Linked DNA regions of Homo sapiens: regions 1 and 2 are each linked to region 3. The links are contacts of gene promoters, found by promoter capture Hi-C in blood cells and fetal thymus (Javierre and others, 2016). All regions are on one chromosome and are shown on one strand. Each heading gives the region's core, a stretch centred on a gene start or on the middle of the fragment in contact. The rest is flanking DNA. Distances are from core to core; before and after follow the strand shown.

Region 1 (2,700 bases), core at 21-2,520, 520 kb after region 3:
CATGTCACTTTGAGAAAACCAATTTGGAGCCATTGAGAGATCTACTGAAAACTCACTGCAAGTTACTAGTAGAAACTAGAATGCTAGCCTCCCAGACTACTTTCTTCCAATATGCCATCATCTCTCTTAGTGTTCCCCCAAATTACTCTCTTCTTTATTAATCATGCCTTTCATCTTAGGATAATTCAACCATTAAAAAAGTATTCTTACATTATCATCACTAAGCTAAGGTATTGAACTCAACTCAAAGAAAGAAACTGAGACCCAATGAAAGAGGAATTTCAAAGACACTCAAACAAATAACGAAGCTTAGAATTAAATAGAAAATGGGAAAGGTCTTTCCTACCACTTAATCCACATCCCTGCTTCCATGCCAAACTAAAGTCATCACATGCCCCCTTCCATTTGCCTTTCATTGTTCCCATTAATAGATTAGAAAATTGAGGCAGAGACTAAGAAGAGAGAATTGTCCAGTAAAACTAACATAGAAATGCAATTTCGTGGTGGCTTATGGTCATGATTACACAGAGACATTTACTGAAGAGGAATAAATGAGGAGGCATTTCATATCTAATAACCCAACTTTCATCTCTAGTCACTTCAAGTATTTAGTATGTGTGAAGGAGAAGGACACTAGAAAACATGTCAAGCTGGCTTACAGGCACCAGATCTGAGAACTGGAGGATTTCTTTAACCATTCAAGTTCTGTTCATTTGCTATAAACAGCAAATCTGGCTCTTAGCCCCACTCTTACAGTGGAAGATTAACATGATAACAGTTGCATGACTTCCTCTCCCTAAAGATTCATCTTTAACTTCCTTTGGCTAAATCACAAAGTGTGTTTTTCATTTATTGTTGAGCGAAAGAGAGAATGTAGTTTCTTATAACCATCCCCCCAATTAAAAAAACACTCAGCTTAAGAAAACAAACTTAAGCAATAGTCATTTTTCAATTTGTCTATAAAAGTAGACATTTTAAATTTTTCATTACAGAGAAAAGTTTTTATTTATTTTAATACTACTTGAAATAGTTTCAAAGTGTTGGGAAATAAGTGCATGAATCAAAGGCATATCCAAAGAATCCTGTAAATTTCAGTGAAATCCTGTTTGCCACAGATTTGGAGCATTTTTCCTCTGTCCTTTTGAACTTGTTTCTGTTCTGCTGCTCTTGCAAAATATCCTTATGTATAGTTTAAGACCTCTGGCGGGGAAGTTCTCTTCATAGCTCACTTGCAAATCATTCAGTGAATGGGTAGAGATGTCTGTGGGTGGGGAAGGGAGCTGAGTAATCTTCATATCAGCCTGGCTCCTTTTTTCCCCAAGATCCTAAAAGAGCATTACAGACCCAGAGACAGCTGGCCTTATTTGTAAGAAAATTCAAATCTAACATAAGCTCCCAGTACCAATATATAGAATATGGATAGGCACAGGCCTTCAAATCCCACTGGCCTTTAAAATGTAAATAGTACTAGCGATCATGAGTGCAATAAAAACATGTGAGTAGGGAGTAGGGGGAGGGAATGGGACTAGGATGAATGGATCCTCTTTTGACTCCAATCTCTGTTTTAATATTGAAGGCATGGAGTTTTTATCACCCAATCCCAGCCTACAGCTGATGGCTAAAATTCTGGCCACCCAAGAAGAATCTTAAAAATATAATGAAAATATATTGTTAACAAATGGTCTTCTAAGATTTGGTAGTGTGTGCGCACACTGTGGGGCTAGACTTCTCAGTGCCTAACATCAGGAATATCCTTAACCCATCTGGAGACTTGTCAACGCTACTTAAGAAGGTCCTTGGGGCCCCATCCCAAATTTGAGAGTCTTTCCTCTCTGAAATCCAAAGGGGGAGCGAGAGTCATTTATCTAGAAAATATATGACCAACGGTTGAAACTTGGCATGATGTCAACTCAAGTATTCTCTTACTAGGCACACAAAAAAAGTCATTTGGAGAAGACAAGGCACCTGGAAACACTTCTATTCTGCCTTGATTCAATTCAATAGGTATTTACTGAATTGAACAATACATATTTCTAGGCTTGTTGACCCTTCTCAACACCATAACCTAATGTGGACAACGGGTCTTATGAATAAAACATATGTAACCATCTCCGCTGAAGAAGTCAAACGTTTATGACCCCCAGAATTCTGAGCTTCTGGTCCTGCAGTCCAGGCATCTTAAAGACTTCCGGCATTCTGCTAGTGTTACATTCATTCATTCCATCATAACTAGCAAGCTTTTAGGGCAAAGAATGAGGATTCTTCCTTTGGTGAAACTAGGTTTGCCATAACTGTCTACTCACTAGCACTCCTTAGGTCACAAGTCACTACATCTAGACAAGGGAAAAATTCAAGTGACTCCTTCATGTAGTTGTCATTGAAAGATGCTAACAAGAGACCATTTTCCCAGGGCCATTGACAATAAGATGTTTTGCTGAGCATGCAGTTGACATGAACTCCACACACAGACACCTTCGGCCAACTGTCAGCACATTTGAAATTCACACCTTCCTGCCTGTCATCCATCATTTCTCTTCATGGCTCCCAGCAAAGATGACTCCAGGCTTTCTTGAATTTGTGCACAGGTTGCTGTTTAAGCTTCCCCCAATCACTGAGTGGGTTTGTATTGCCTCCTCACCTAGATACCTCTCCTACCATTGGAGACTGCGCCATCATTTACTCCCAAAAAAGAAGACTCTG
Region 2 (2,700 bases), core at 190-2,689, 540 kb after region 3:
GTCGCCCAGGCTGGAGTGCAGTGGCACGATCTCGGCTCACTGCAAGCTCCGCCTCCCGGGTTCACGCCATTCTCCTGCCTCAGCCTTCCAAGTAGCTGGGACTACAGGTGCCCACCACCATGCCCGGCTGATTTTTTTGTACTTTTTTTAGTAGAGACGGGGTTTCACCGTGTTAACCAGGGTGGTGTTGATCTCCTGACCTCGTGATCCGCCCACCTCGGCCTCCCAAAGTGCTGGGATTACAGGTGTGAGCCACCACGCCCGGCCAATATTTACTTTTTGAGAATTAAAATGCACAAGTGTATTTAATACCCTGTGAATCTTTACTCTTCACATAAAATCGGTTATAGCTTTCTAGCATAGGATAGGGTCCAAATCCAACCTACCACCTATGTTTGTAAATAGAGCTTTATTGGAACACAGCCATGCCCCCATTTTAATGTATTGTATGAATAACTGCATGCTACAATAGCAGAGCAGACTGGTGGTGATAAGGACCGTGTAGCCCACAAAGCCTAAAACACTTAAAATCTGGGCCTTTACATCAGAAACTATTGAATCTGACATAAAATATACAGTATGTAGTTAATGATGACAACACTTGGGTTCAAACTTACTGGGCAAGGTGATGTAATCTCTCTAAGTCTCAGTTGTCTCACTTCCGAAATGGGAACAATAATGCCTGCTTTGTCTACCTCATGACACTGCAGTGAGGAGCAAATGAAATAACACGTCAGTGTCTATACAAGACGAATGCAGAACACAAGTGCTCCAGAGTCCCTAATCCTCCCACTGCAGCTCTGCGGCAGCTCTAAGACACCGTCCTACATTCCCAGGTAGAGTGAGCCCCATCTTCCTGCTGACTGGATTTCTTTTTCTTTTTCCTTTTTTTGGAGGTGGAGTCTCACTCTTGTTGCCCAGGCTGGAGTGCAGTGGCGCCATCTCAGCTCACTGCAACCTCCACCTCCCGGGTTCAAGCGATTCTCCTGCCTCAGCCTCCCGAGTAGCTGGGATTACAGGCGGGTGCCACCACACCCAGCTAAATTTTGTATTATTAGTAGAGATGGGGTTTCAACTGGTCTCAAACTCCTGTCCTCAGGTGATCCACCCACCTCAGCTTCCCAAAGTGCTGGGATTACAGGCGTGTGCCATTATGCCTGGCCTGGATTTCTCATATTGGTTGGATTCTCACCACCCTCTCCCACTATTGCTACAAAAGGGCTCCCAAATATGCTTCTGGCCCCTGCTACTCTCCTTGTTCTTTGGTATTTTCGTCACCTCCAGCAAATTCAAAGAAAAGGAATTCAGTCATTGCATTGATGGGTAAGAAAGGTTTAGAATAGAGAAAGCCACGTGCAGATATCAAAAGAACACTGTGGCTAGACCCAAGAGTGAGTCAAAGGTATGCTCTGATGTTTGAAGTAAAATGAGAAGACTTTGAAGACAGTGGCCAGAAGTTTACATTTGATGCAATGAATGTGGGAAGTCCCTGGAAGACTGCATGGTAAGGCTAAAGTAGCAGGTGCAAAAAAAGGATCAGAGGACTCCAAGGAGCTGACGTTCTGTATAGGGCTTCCACCCAGGTTCCATTTGACACTGGGGCCCAGCCTAAAAGTTACCTTTCACAGCCTCCCACCCCTGACCCTTGGGTTTTCTCGATGATAGAGAGCCTGGCTCTGGGCCTGACAGTGAGCTGTAGCCTCCAACTGAAAGGAAGCTCAGCAAGAATGACCTTGTTAGACTCATTCTGCAGAGCACCGTGGATGTCAGTGAGCATCTCTTGGAGATTTATGGCCCTGAACCTAGTCTCCTGTTACTTGGTGATTCTGCTGAATTTTCCATTGAGCAATAAGGGCAGGATAACAGCAGAGCTGCTCAAGGTTAGCAGCCTTCTGAAGTCCACCCAGCTCCACAAAACTTCTTCCTAATGATATACAGAAGAGATTTATTGGGATGTTTTTGCAGGCCAGGAAATTGCTACATGATTTTGTCATTGACAAAGGAGCAAACATCACTGCCCACTTTCTGTTGGACTTTCTCCACTTTGCTAGTTCTTCAACTGGAAATGATGAAAATAGGCTGATTCCTGGTTTAGTTACCAGGTGGGAGGGCTACCCAAACAATATTCCAATTTCATTGTTTTCATTTCAGGGATTATTGATGGCAACTTTAGGGCATACCTTATATTTGAACTTCCACTTGGTTTCCTGTTCTTGTGGGATTCATTTGAATTGCTGCTAAGTTGGGCATTCAAACATTTCTCTTATGTTGGTTCTAAACTAGTGAGGGAAAACCACGATGTCAGAAGTAATTTTATTTCCACTGTCTTTTCAGATGTGTCAGGGCTCTTGATCAAAACTGATTTTCCAAAGGAGCAGAAAACCAAACACTGCATATTCTCACTATACGTGGGACCAGTAGGACCAGTAATATAGGGCAGTTAAGACCAGTAAACAAGGAGGAAAGGTCATCAAAGATGATTTTCTTTTGAAATGGGAGATTAGGAGAATAGTGGGGTAACTACTGATAGCAGATTGAGACATTAGAAAGACGTGCCATTTTCAGTGTTTCTTGGTTTTTTTTCTTTTTTATAAAGCCATTTATCTTAAGTGCCTTTTGAAAATATTAATCCTATATTTCAGTTGCATTCAATGCAGTGTTTTGGCACCCATTAAAGCCATGGGTATAGGGAGAAGTGCA
Region 3 (2,952 bases), core at 453-2,952:
GGGGTATCGAGTGTCCAGGGATATCCACGCAGACATCCTTGTACTTGCAAATACAAAGAAACACACAGGACAGAGATCAGGCTCGCGCCAGGGCTCGATCTCCTCGGGGCTCAGGGTTGGAGGCCGTACACAGCCTGGACACAAACTGAGCCAAAGAGTTTATTTTTAGCAAATAAGATATGAGTTTTTAGAAAATTGCTTCGAATAGCAAATCCGAGAAACATTATTTCAAAACGTTGGAATCAAAGGAAATCAAATGCCCACAACCCATTTCCGTCAGTGCTTACAAATGAGCTTCTGCAAAACCCAGTCCACTTAAACATTTGGTCGGAACTCACGAAAAGAACCAAAAGCAAGGCATTCCGAGTCCTGGCGGGGGTTGAGCGGCCGGGCGGACGCCTGGCTATCTCTTCTGGGAGTCGCGCATTCGATCGCATTCAGGTTAAAATTTAAAGCCCCTGGATCCTGCTCCAGTCGCCAGCCTCTCCATTCCAGAGTTTTCTACCTTCAGCCTTTTCCAAATGCGGCCACGCTGAAACTGGGAGCCGCCGCAGTGATTGGGGGAGGCAAAGTGGAACGTAATAAAAGTGACTAAATTGGATGAGAACGGTTTCTGGACCTTCTCGGTAGCAATTTAAAATTCAGAAGTGTTTAGAAGCAATTTACAACGAAGAATGAAAAACGAAGAATTCTCGCCAACTTCCTGAATTCCTTGCCCCCTCCCCCGCACTGCCAGGCCCTGTCCCGCTCCCCCAGGAGCCACAAGTTCACAACTCACAGTTACGTGCAGAGGAAACAACGCTTAGCTACGAGGTCTCACCATCTCTGGAAACCATACTTTACAAGGCACCTCTCCACCCCAGTTCAACTCTGCACAGGCTCCTCTTCCTTCCCTAACTGGGAAAACACGAAAATAGAAACAAAACAAAAAACCAGAGCCTAAACGCTTTCTAGGAGACCGACCTTCAGAAAATCATTTACTTGGATTTACCTGGGCGGGGGGTAGGGGGTGGGGTCGGGGTAAAGTATAAAAATTCATTCTCACAAAAACAACGCCTCTTGTCCTAAAGTCTCCCTCGGCAGCCTTCTGGGGTCACGTCTGTCGGAAGAAATCCTTTCTGTAAGCGAAAGGGAGCGAGACATATATCACGGCTCCTGCAGCGGACGAGCCTGCGGCCGCGCGAGTTGCCGCTGACAGATCGGCGCTGATAACCCCGCGACGTTCATTTCCAGTCCCTTTTGCCCGCTAGGGACCGTATCAGTTTGTACAGAGTTGTGATAACTGTTTGGAGGGAGCGAAGAGGGGGTGTGTATATGAACGTGGGGGTGGGGAAGCAGCATTTAGCGCTGGGTCCAGGGAAGGTGACACCCCCTCTTCGCAGTGACTTATCTGTGACTTACCTGAAACTCTCCAGGGAAATATCAGAAACTCTCCAGGGACATCAAAAGTTGGAGAGCGTCCTCGGACACGACTGATGTGGAAGCCCTTTTCCATTCTGCGTACCCCATAGACTACCTTTCCGTACATGACGACCCGAGTTAAAGTTCCCAAAGGTCAGCTGGGGAATGTTGTCTTGAGGTTCCCGAAACCACCACGACCTGAGCCGTAGCATCCCGAGATAGGGTCGGAGAAAGTTTAAGGTCGGTCTCACACAACTTCAGGGCAAAAAGCGCATTTGCTGTGAAGGGGCTAGGCGGGGGTTGGGGGGCGGGGGGGCGCAGAGCACGTTCCCCCTTCCTTCTGGGGGCGTGCTGACCCAAGGTCTGGAGCGCCCCTCCCGCCGCGGCGGCGGCGCGGGACTGTGCACTGCCAACTCCTCCCGTGCCAAGGCTCCCTCCCCCTCCCTCGTGTGGGTGTGTGTGTGCGACTGCGGGAGCGGGAGGGTGCACCGCCGCTGGATGGGTGCGGGTCGCTAGCCAGGTCAGGCGTTCTGTGGCCTCCGCCCCTCCCCCGGGGTCCCTGGGCTCGGTGCCCCCCGGGTGGACTCGCCCCCACTCCGGGGACAGGGCTTGCGGCTCAGCCCACGCCCGCAGGCAGCGCGGCTCTCATTGTCTGCCTGGGCGGCGCGCTCCCCTCCCCCCTCGCCGTCCCCTCCCCACCCTCTTTTCTCTCCTCCCCTCGATCCCTCCTCCTCCTCTTCACCTCCAGCGCCCAGCTGCTCGCTGAGCGCAGTTCCGACCCACAGCCTGGCACCCTTCGGCGAGCGCTGTTTGTTTAGGGCTCGGTGAGTCCAATCAGGAGCCCAGGCTGCAGTTTTCCGGCAGAGCAGTAAGAGGCGCCTCCTCTCTCCTTTTTATTCACCAGCAGCGCGGCGCAGACCCCGGACTCGCGCTCGCCCGCTGGCGCCCTCGGCTTCTCTCCGCGCCTGGGAGCACCCTCCGCCGCGGCCGTTCTCCATGCGCAGCGCCCGCCCGAGGTTCGGCTGCTTCCTCCTCGCGCGATCTCCCCGCTTTCCTCCCCTCCACCCCTACTCGTCGCGGGCCCCTGGCCTCCGGCTCTCCGGCCCTCTCCAGGCCGCGGTCGGCTCCGACGGTGTTTCCCTCCTTCCCTCCGGGCGGGCTGAGGCGGCTCCCAGGCTCCCGGGACACCGCGGACCAACTTCTAGTCTCTTTTTCTCTCCTCGAAGCGCTTATCTGCGCGCAGCCTTATCTCCGAGTTATCTCGGCGCAAAGGGGCGGGAGCCGGTAGTTAGGCAGGCAGAGAAACTTCTTTCTTGCTATCTAGCCAGGTCTGTGTGTGGGCATTAATTTTAGTGTGGTAATCTCCGATGAGCCGAGGCGATTTGGAAGAGCAGCCTGGAGGAGGCCAGCCCGGCTGCATTTCACCTCCCTCCCCCACTCGCTCCGAGTCTCCCTGTCATTCTTCCTGCTCTCCCATTTGGGGTCGCCTCGGCTCTGGGGCGGTCTCACGCTCCCCCCTCCCCAGCCCGTTGCGTTCCCCCTCCTTTTCTC

What was found. The method cuts DNA at HindIII sites, captures the fragments that hold promoters and counts their contacts. A CHiCAGO score of 5 or more calls a contact.
Region 1: a fragment that was not itself captured here is called in contact with the fragment with the promoter of GATA6-AS1 in region 3 in 1 of 17 cell types (endothelial precursors); the score reaches 8.1 in endothelial precursors.
Region 2: a fragment that was not itself captured here is called in contact with the fragment with the promoter of GATA6-AS1 in region 3 in 2 of 17 cell types (endothelial precursors and megakaryocytes); the score reaches 7.6 in endothelial precursors.

The regions. Positions count from the first base shown.
Region 1 is chr18:22,691,365-22,694,064 of GRCh38, forward strand. No RefSeq gene overlaps it. Among named protein-coding and RNA genes, the nearest start is that of RBBP8, 240 kb to the right of the region's middle. The HindIII fragment of the contact is 1,929 bases long and covers 307-2,235 here.
Region 2 is chr18:22,708,062-22,710,761 of GRCh38, forward strand. No RefSeq gene overlaps it. Among named protein-coding and RNA genes, the nearest start is that of RBBP8, 220 kb to the right of the region's middle. The HindIII fragment of the contact is 7,836 bases long and covers 1-2,700 here.
Region 3 is chr18:22,167,266-22,170,217 of GRCh38, forward strand. GATA6-AS1 (GATA6 antisense RNA 1 (head to head)) reads right to left here and starts at 1,703. Exons shown (of 2, transcript NR_102763.1): 1 at 1,402-1,703; 2 at 1-1,118. It overlaps GATA6 (GATA binding protein 6), which reads left to right and starts at 2,324. Exons shown (of 7, transcript NM_005257.6): 1 at 2,324-2,417. RefSeq lists an enhancer at 1-472. The HindIII fragment of the contact is 8,900 bases long and covers 1-2,952 here.